Regions from separate parts of the Homo sapiens genome. Here region 1 is linked to region 2. Evidence: promoter capture Hi-C in human tissues and cell types (Jung and others, 2019). All regions are on one chromosome and are shown on one strand. Each heading gives the region's core, a stretch centred on a gene start or on the middle of the fragment in contact. The rest is flanking DNA. Distances are from core to core; before and after follow the strand shown.

Region 1 (4,245 bases), core at 881-3,380, 190 kb after region 2:
TGCTGGCCTCCTTAGCCTTTCTAGTTCCACAGAAACTTGCTTTCTCCTGCACCTCTTTATTTTAAACTTTTTAAATATAATTATTCATTTGAACTGTGTTGCAGTCACTTATGTACACCTCCTGCCCTCAGTGCCTCACCCACCTCCTTAGATTGAGATTCCTGAGCTCTAAGTTTACAAACCCGTTACTGTTTCTAAGGAGCCCCATCCACACACACACACGCTTGCAGATGCACTGCACACACACACACACATACACGCACGGCTCCTAACATGCAGGGTAACACATAGCAGGTGTCTTATGCATGTTTGTGGATTGGAAGATAGATTTCTACCCCTAAAGAAGCAAGTTGTCATCTGAAAAGTTACTATTTATAGCAGGAACAGAAGAGAAGGGAGCCTGCTGGATGTGATCCATGAACTGAGCGTGGAAGGGAGTAGGGAGGTGCAGACGACAGAGAGAGGGAAAGGGGAGGAGGGAGATTTTCTAGGGGTTGCAGACATGAAGAAAAAAAGACCATGCTGTGGAATCTTGATTTATGGCAAAATGCAATTTTAAAAGATAAATGCACAGGCTGAAGTCAGGAAAGCAGGGCTGCCATTCCAGGTTACATAAGAGAAAAATGAGTACTGGCATTCCCTGTCAGGTCAGGCTGCACCTACCTTGCATACTCTCCCTATCCCTCCTGGAGTCTGTCTCTCTTTCTCTTTCTCTGTCTCACACACACACATGCACACATGCACACACAGGCACACACATGCACACACATGCCTTCCCTGCTCCCACTGCAAGCACTCTCACAGCTCTGCTCTCTGCATCCCTCCTGGCCCTGGCTCTGCAGTGGGTGCAGGAGGGAGATTTATAGCTGCTGCATCTCTGCTCCTGCCTCCCAGACACAGGATCATCCCACGCAAAGCTTCTTTATATGGGGTTGTTAGCTCTGCTCTGCTGACTTGGGAGGGTACATATTTTTAATCTTGATTATTTTAATGCCATACTTCATCCTTGGGCTTCTGGCTGCAACCTCATTCGGATCTCAGAACACCAACAGCAGTAAAGCCACTGCCATTTGTCACCCCACACTGATTGCCTGGGATCCTGAAATGAGAAAGTGTGGGAGGGAACACATCTTGAAGCTGCTCCGTCTCAGCCCCACGGACGGTCTCTGAATGCAGGGACACTGGCACACCCCGGCCTCTGGCTGAACAGTGCACCTTGGATATGGCATCGTGGGCTTTAACTAAAGGGAAAAGGCTGTACCTGAGCTGGGAGCAGCATCAATGGGTAGGATCAGAATGTGCTTAAATGCTTCTCTTCTCTGAGAGAACCAGACACATGGAGAGAACCAGACACATCATTGGCAAAGAGCCAATGATGGAACGGAGGGAGGCCCCACGGCAGCTGCAGCTCTGTGAGTCCATTGGAACTGGGCAACCATTGTGTCTTGTGGCCCTCACGGCCGTGTGTCACCAGACCAGAGAAGGCCGTCACAGGCACCTTCTTCAGGGCCACTCCATGTCCTGTCTCTAGTTGCGGTCTCCCTGCTCCTGCTGGGTCTCATTTTCCTCTCACCTCTAACTCCTCTGTGATGTGAAGGGTGAGAAGGCATAAGGAAAGGAGGATTTAGAGAGCTTAAGCTTGCAGAAGGAAGTGCTTCATCCGTAGCTTTGCAACCTTAACACATTGGGTGCCTTCCTGGAGCATGCTGGTGCCATCAGCCCTCTGTATCCTACCACCATGTTGTGAATCAGATTTGCAAAGACATCGTTTGCCCCATTTTGGACATGAGAAAAAAAACCCAGAGAAATTCCATGGTTCCCCTTGTCACACACTAGAGGGTTGGCAGCTAAGGTGTTTCACCTCAACACTCCCGTGTTCCTTGGCACCCCAGCCCAGCCAGGGTGTCAGGCCAGGAAAGAAACCCCAGGACCCACCACTCACAGTCTAGTGACATTGACCCATGGGACAGGGATTTCCCTTTTGGAGAACACAAAGGTGAAGGTGTGTGTATAGTGTGACACTGATGCAGCAATAGGAAACGTGTGCTGCTCGCCCCAAATTCCGCAGTCTCATAACAGATAAGAAGACGGCCCATTGCTGACCTGGTTATGTAGGACAGAGCCTAGTTCCAGGGGCGACGGAAGCTGCTCTGTTTGGATTGATTTTCTGAATTCAAGCAGAGCTCTACTCCTGCCAAAACCTTCCCCATCAGCTTCCCTAATTAAAATTAATTTTCATTCATCCATTAGAATTAAATTTTTAAAACACAGAGACTACTGGCTAGAAGTGAACCCAGGAAAGCGAATCCATACTCCTATGCATGACTCAGAGCTCAACCTTCCCAAAAACAGTTTCTGTAAGGAAGGAGGAGGGTATCTGAAACCAGCATCCAGACATGCAGTACCATTTTGCATCTCACCATGGTACTGGGGGCAGAAGTGATTTTTATCACAACCCAAGTCGAAACACATGCTCCTAAATATTGTTCTGGACATTTTGGTTTTGCTTTACTGTTTCAGTTTGTAATTAAAGAGGGTTCTTCTATTAATGACTTTTACATATTAACCTTCTCATTAGTCCATGACAGCATCTATTAGACCTCTCGAGATTAGATATCTTCAGAAGGCAGCTTGATATACACAGGTTCACCAAGGGGCCACGCCTGCTGAGAAATTCCAAATCCTGCCTGGTAACAGAATACTGCAGGTGGTGGTGCACAGTGATTTTCTAAGCCATTGGTAAAGCCTTTTCAGATGGTATGAAACCTTCTTCATGCAACCTGAAAATCTGACTGGGTAGTTTCATGTTTTAAATTTCCTAATGAGGATTCATTGGTATTAATTTTTGTTTTAATTTTTCTAGGCTAGTAATATAACTAGGATGTAGAGAAAATTTTTAAAGTTTTAAAAATGTAGCCTCCTAACAATTAATCAATTGATGGACCTTTTGCAAACGTGTGATCAGGACAAGTCCTGGGGGTGTAGGAGGCTGTGTGTCCTCACAATGTGCCCTCTCCTGTGGCTCCCATGTGGAGCTGCCGTAAACTTCTAGCAGGGCACCAAAGATGTCTTATTGCTAAATCAAAGGCCTTTTGTTGGCCCTCATTCTTTTGGTTCTTGACATCTTCTCTGCATCACTTTTTACCGTGTTCCCTCCTGGAAAACCTGTCTTTTTTGGCTTTCAGGGCCTTATGCTACCTTAATTTTCATCTTACATTTTTAATGGCTGGTTTGCTCCTTGGATGATGGGTCTTTATCCCCTGTTTGCTAAGTGTGGGCACTGGCCCAGGGGCAGCTCTTGGTTCTGTGTGCTTCATTTCCTATACACTACCCACTCAGTTGTCCCTTCCTGTTCCTGCCTTTGCAAAATGAGAAGAGAAGCCTCCGCAGCCTTGCACGGCCTTCCCCTGACCTCCCAGCTCCTCCACTGCTCTCCACCCAGAGCCCATCCTCCCACCTGATGGAGCAGGCCTTGAGCAAAACAGCAAAGCCAGTCTCCCTTCCAGATTTTCCTGTTCCTCATCCTACCTGTGTGCTGGGCACAGATCATTAAAAATAAATAATCACAGTATTTAATGCTGTCAACACTGGAGCCATCAGAAATACCATTTGCGGTATACAAAATGTTCTCATGCATATCACCTCATTTGATTTTGGGAGGCAGAGGGCTGATCATGTTTCTGTTTTACAAATGAGAACATTAATGCCAAAAGAGGTAAGAATCTTGGCCAAGGACAGAGATATAATAAGTGATTGATTAGAAATTAAAACATAGCTCCTCTCCCCTCAAGCTTCGTGCCCCTTCTAGAATTCCCTATAAGATCAGAGGAGGGTTCTATGACAGATCCCCTCTGGCTCACCGAGCCCTCTTCCCCAGCTCCTCTGAAAAGGTTATGTCTAGGATTCCTAAGGTAAGTGTTAGTAATGAAGTGTATGACTTAGCCCATTGTATCATGGGTGACTCAGCTGCAGCAGTGCCTGACATCACCAACCCTAGTCAGCAAGAGGTCATTTCCTGCATGTCAGCTGAAACACTCATTCCTAATGAGGTAATGACGTGACACCTACTGTTCGCAGAACTGCATGTCTCTGGACTACGTGGCCGAAGTCACTATCTATGGACTCCTTTTATTGGGGTAGAAATTATTCTTCAGGTAAGGACTTAAGCCTCATCTACCTTTGAGCTTCGTTCACTGGTGTTCACAACTTCTCCAATTTTATTATCTCTGAAGTGTGTCTGGGATT
Region 2 (3,723 bases), core at 939-3,438:
TGCTCACAATAGCTCACTCCACCAGCCTTTGAAAAATCACAGCAAAACTGAATGAGGTGGCAAGTGCTCAGCCTGAATAGCACTGTCTACAGAACAATGGCAGCCAACTCTAAATCCTACTATAATCACATTAATGAGATTAATCAGTGAATTAGCAGCAGTCAAATGTCAGGGAGGCAAGGAAGAATCCAACCAAGATTGGTAATTAACTTTTTGTGGGTGGGGGTGGGGAGGAGAGAAAAATCAACTGTGCTATCTCATAGGTTTTTTTAGATGTTGATAATTTTGATTCACGAATCTGAAGACTATATGTACAGATCAAAAGACAACAACATAATCCTTCATATTATAATATAGATCCAGATCTCATATTACTGATTCTTATAGTCCTCTGAGAAAGCTGATGTCACTTTAAATAATCTTCATAATCTATCAGAATTTTATTGTTTTAAATTCTTTAAATGCACAATTAATATTTAAAATAAACTTATTTCTCTGAAAATCAAGCTAAAATATAAAGAAATATGGCTGATTAAAAGCAGAAGGATTATATAACAACTGTTATTGTTTATGAAAAGTGTATGATAGTATGGTAAGAGTTTTCAAAGTGCAATCAAGTAAAGTACCATCACACACACACATCAGTAGTGGTCTATGTTAGTTAATAAAGAAAATTTATCACTCAAGTATAACTTTAAGGAGACTTTTAAGCAATTAACTTACTGCATTTGAGGTGATAGAATCATACATGTTCTTTTAGGTCAATCAGAAAAAACAAACTTCCTTTTTTTCTGGAATGTTTCTCTTAGTAGCATTTATAACTTACAATCAACACTTTGGATTCAAAGTTCTTGAGAGGTGAAAACTTATAGGAATGCAATGCTGTTTTTTTTTTTGAAAAGGAATATTTTATAAAACTCTTTTCTTTTAAAAATAATTACATTTTTATCTGTATGGGAGACATGACTTTATTATTTTTAAAGCTACATGACACTAAATGAAGATGAACAATTAGAAAGACCCTCATATGCCAGTAAGGGTGGTTTTGGGATGCTTTGGTCTATGACGTTAATTTTGTTTAGTAGAAAATATAAACATTTGAACAAAAAGGCTCTTATATAAAATAGTTTTACTCTAAGTAACTTAGAAATTATTTAGCTTATATAGCTTTGATGGTACAAGAAATTGTCATGGTTAATACTAAATTCAAAATCTGTTCTCTATATTTTATATAGCTAACTTTCATATAAATATTTACATATATATTTTTGCTTTATTCAGATCTATCTTAAAACTAAAGTGTAGAGTTTAATCTTTTAGTTTATTAATTTAGGTGTTACAAAAAGACATATTTCTGTTATAAATAACATTTTCTTTCATTATTATGAACTTCAAACATTTAAGTTAAATTTAAAAATCTTTATTTGAGTTTCTCCACTTAAACAATATAAATCAACTTTCTTCTTACCATCAGGTAAATTCATCCAAAATAGCTAACATTTTAATTGCCTTTGCATAAAATGATGTGCTTCATTTGTAATGTAAAGTAATCCAGTAAAGTCTCTGGGAAGTTTTTGTTTCAGTATCCTCTTATCCTCCAAACACCATACATGCACCCCGTTTTGTTTTTGTTTCTTTTTTTCTTAATAAACAACATCACAGTTAAGTCATGCAACCTAATACCCATTTTAGTTTAAAGACAGATTTTTTTGTGGATTACAAAGCCTCCAGTCCAGGAACATTTCAGCTACCAGCCATGCTGTAAAAATAACTTTAAAAAGGAGCAGACAATGGAATAGCAGCCTCAGCCCTTGAGCTACGGTAAAACACATCCTGCTCACTAAGTTCCCCGAAAAATTAACCTAACGAACATCACGTACCTCACAATGACCACAACCGCTCACAAGCGAAAGACAAGTTCAATTTTGGTAACTGTGCTGGCTCAAAATACACAGACAGGGAAGAAAACCCTGTTCCACCACAAGTTTGAAAGGATGATGAGACACATGCATGCCACCAAGACGCAGAAAAGGTGGCTTTTTGTCTTCAGTGAGTATGGATATCATAACCCATAGTCCAGGGAATGAAAAAATTAAAATGCACCCACCAACAATGAGCAAAAAACCCGGGGTGCTTCAACAAGACTGCAGGGAAAAGCTCTCTCACTGTTTAGTGTGCAGTAGCTTAGGGAAAAAAAAAATGTCGCCCGGGCAGGAATGACAAATGCAGCGCGATAGGCTCGCAGGCCTCAGGGATCTGTTTGACTTCCACACACCCCCATGCACACGCTCCCACTCATCCTCTCCTAGGCTTTTTTTTTTTTCCACATTTTTTTTTCACAAGCTCCAAATCCCCGGCATATGACCTTCTGTTAAATAGATAAAAAAAAAAATTGCTTATCAGTCATGCAAATGAGGCTGAATTCATTTTCCACAACAGATGGCCTCATAGATAATGATGATGGAAGAGAGAAAATTGAATGTCTCTCACAAGGTGGCCATGGCAACCGAGAGCAGAATAATATCAATAATAAACTCACTGCATAATAAGGTTGTCAGTCCTACAAATCAAAGTCTCCAGCTAAATCAGGTATACCACCCCAGCTAGTTACCAGGTAAATAGTACACACACACACACACACACACACACACACACACACTTCCACAGAGTGGCTTGAAATCTTTCATGGTCACTGTAAAATGTGTACGTGTGTGTGTCTGTTGGTGGCAAGAAGGGGTTGGGGGAGAGAATAGTTGGATAATGAAATGACAATGTGACTTTTTTCTTTTCCTTTCCTTTCATTATGTTTTCTGCAATAGACTCGGTTTCATGCAGGACCTTCTAACTAGCCATATTGAAATCGGGATGCGGTGCTGAAGGCTTTCTCTCCTCCCTCTGCCTCCGCGCTCTCGCTCTGATGTGCTGCATTGATGCAATAGCAGCTCGCCTCAGGCTTCCACCTTGGCTCCCAGGGGGACATCCTGCAAAATGAATCAGCAGCCATCCTGAGCAGGCTGATTAAAATGAAAATGGCAAGGCACATGTCTGGGCGGAACTGGAGCTCAGCTTTGCTGCTTGTCTGGCAAGCATGCTCAATATAGCTCTTGCTAATAATGGCTTACTGCCTTTCATTTTTTAAAAAGGTATCACCCTTTTCCCCCTTCACTGACTGGTGTTGTCTGTGTGTGTGTGTGTGGTGTGTGTGTGTGTGTGCACGTATGTGTGCGTGCATGTCGCGGGGGGAAACGAGAATGGATGGTTCTATTCTTCTAATTTTCTGCTGCTCACATGCAGACTGCCTGCCTGACAGCACCATTATTTTAACACTGAACTTACTTCAGCTTTTCTTTTGGGACAGGGTGGGGGGGCGGTTGATAAGTCTTGGGGCAGAAGGGCTAGTTTTAAAATCAAGCTGCCTAAAAGGCCCAGACAAGATTTTTACACTCCAGATTCAATAATTTCTAACCAAATCTGAAGCAACAGACCTCGAGAGAACTCCGATGCTCTGCTTCACAGGCTCACAGTTGGACATGCTGAAACACAGCCTATGAAGAAACCTATTTCTGTTTCGAGCATTTGCAACCAGCCTGTTACTGTATCCTAGATATTATGCAACACAGAGAATTAAAACAGAGAAAGCTACTAGCTAATAAAATAATCGAACACAATTGAAAAAATAAATCTTGGATATTTTGTTGTTTAAAATTCTCAGGCATAGCTTCA

Evidence for each region. The method cuts DNA at HindIII sites, captures the fragments that hold promoters and counts their contacts. A contact is called where the count stands out against the background at its distance.
Region 1: a fragment that was not itself captured here is called in contact with the fragment with the promoter of MYT1L in region 2 in 4 of the 25 tissues and cell types used here (dorsolateral prefrontal cortex, hippocampus, mesendoderm cells and 1 more).

The regions. Positions count from the first base shown.
Region 1 is chr2:2,523,349-2,527,593 of GRCh38, forward strand. No RefSeq gene overlaps it. Among named protein-coding and RNA genes, the nearest start is that of MYT1L, 190 kb to the left of the region's middle. RefSeq lists an enhancer at 3,482-4,245. The HindIII fragment of the contact is 4,219 bases long and covers 22-4,240 here.
Region 2 is chr2:2,329,087-2,332,809 of GRCh38, forward strand. It overlaps MYT1L (myelin transcription factor 1 like), which reads right to left and starts at 2,189. Exons shown (of 25, transcript NM_001303052.2): 1 at 1,881-2,189. The HindIII fragment of the contact is 11,173 bases long and covers 1-3,723 here.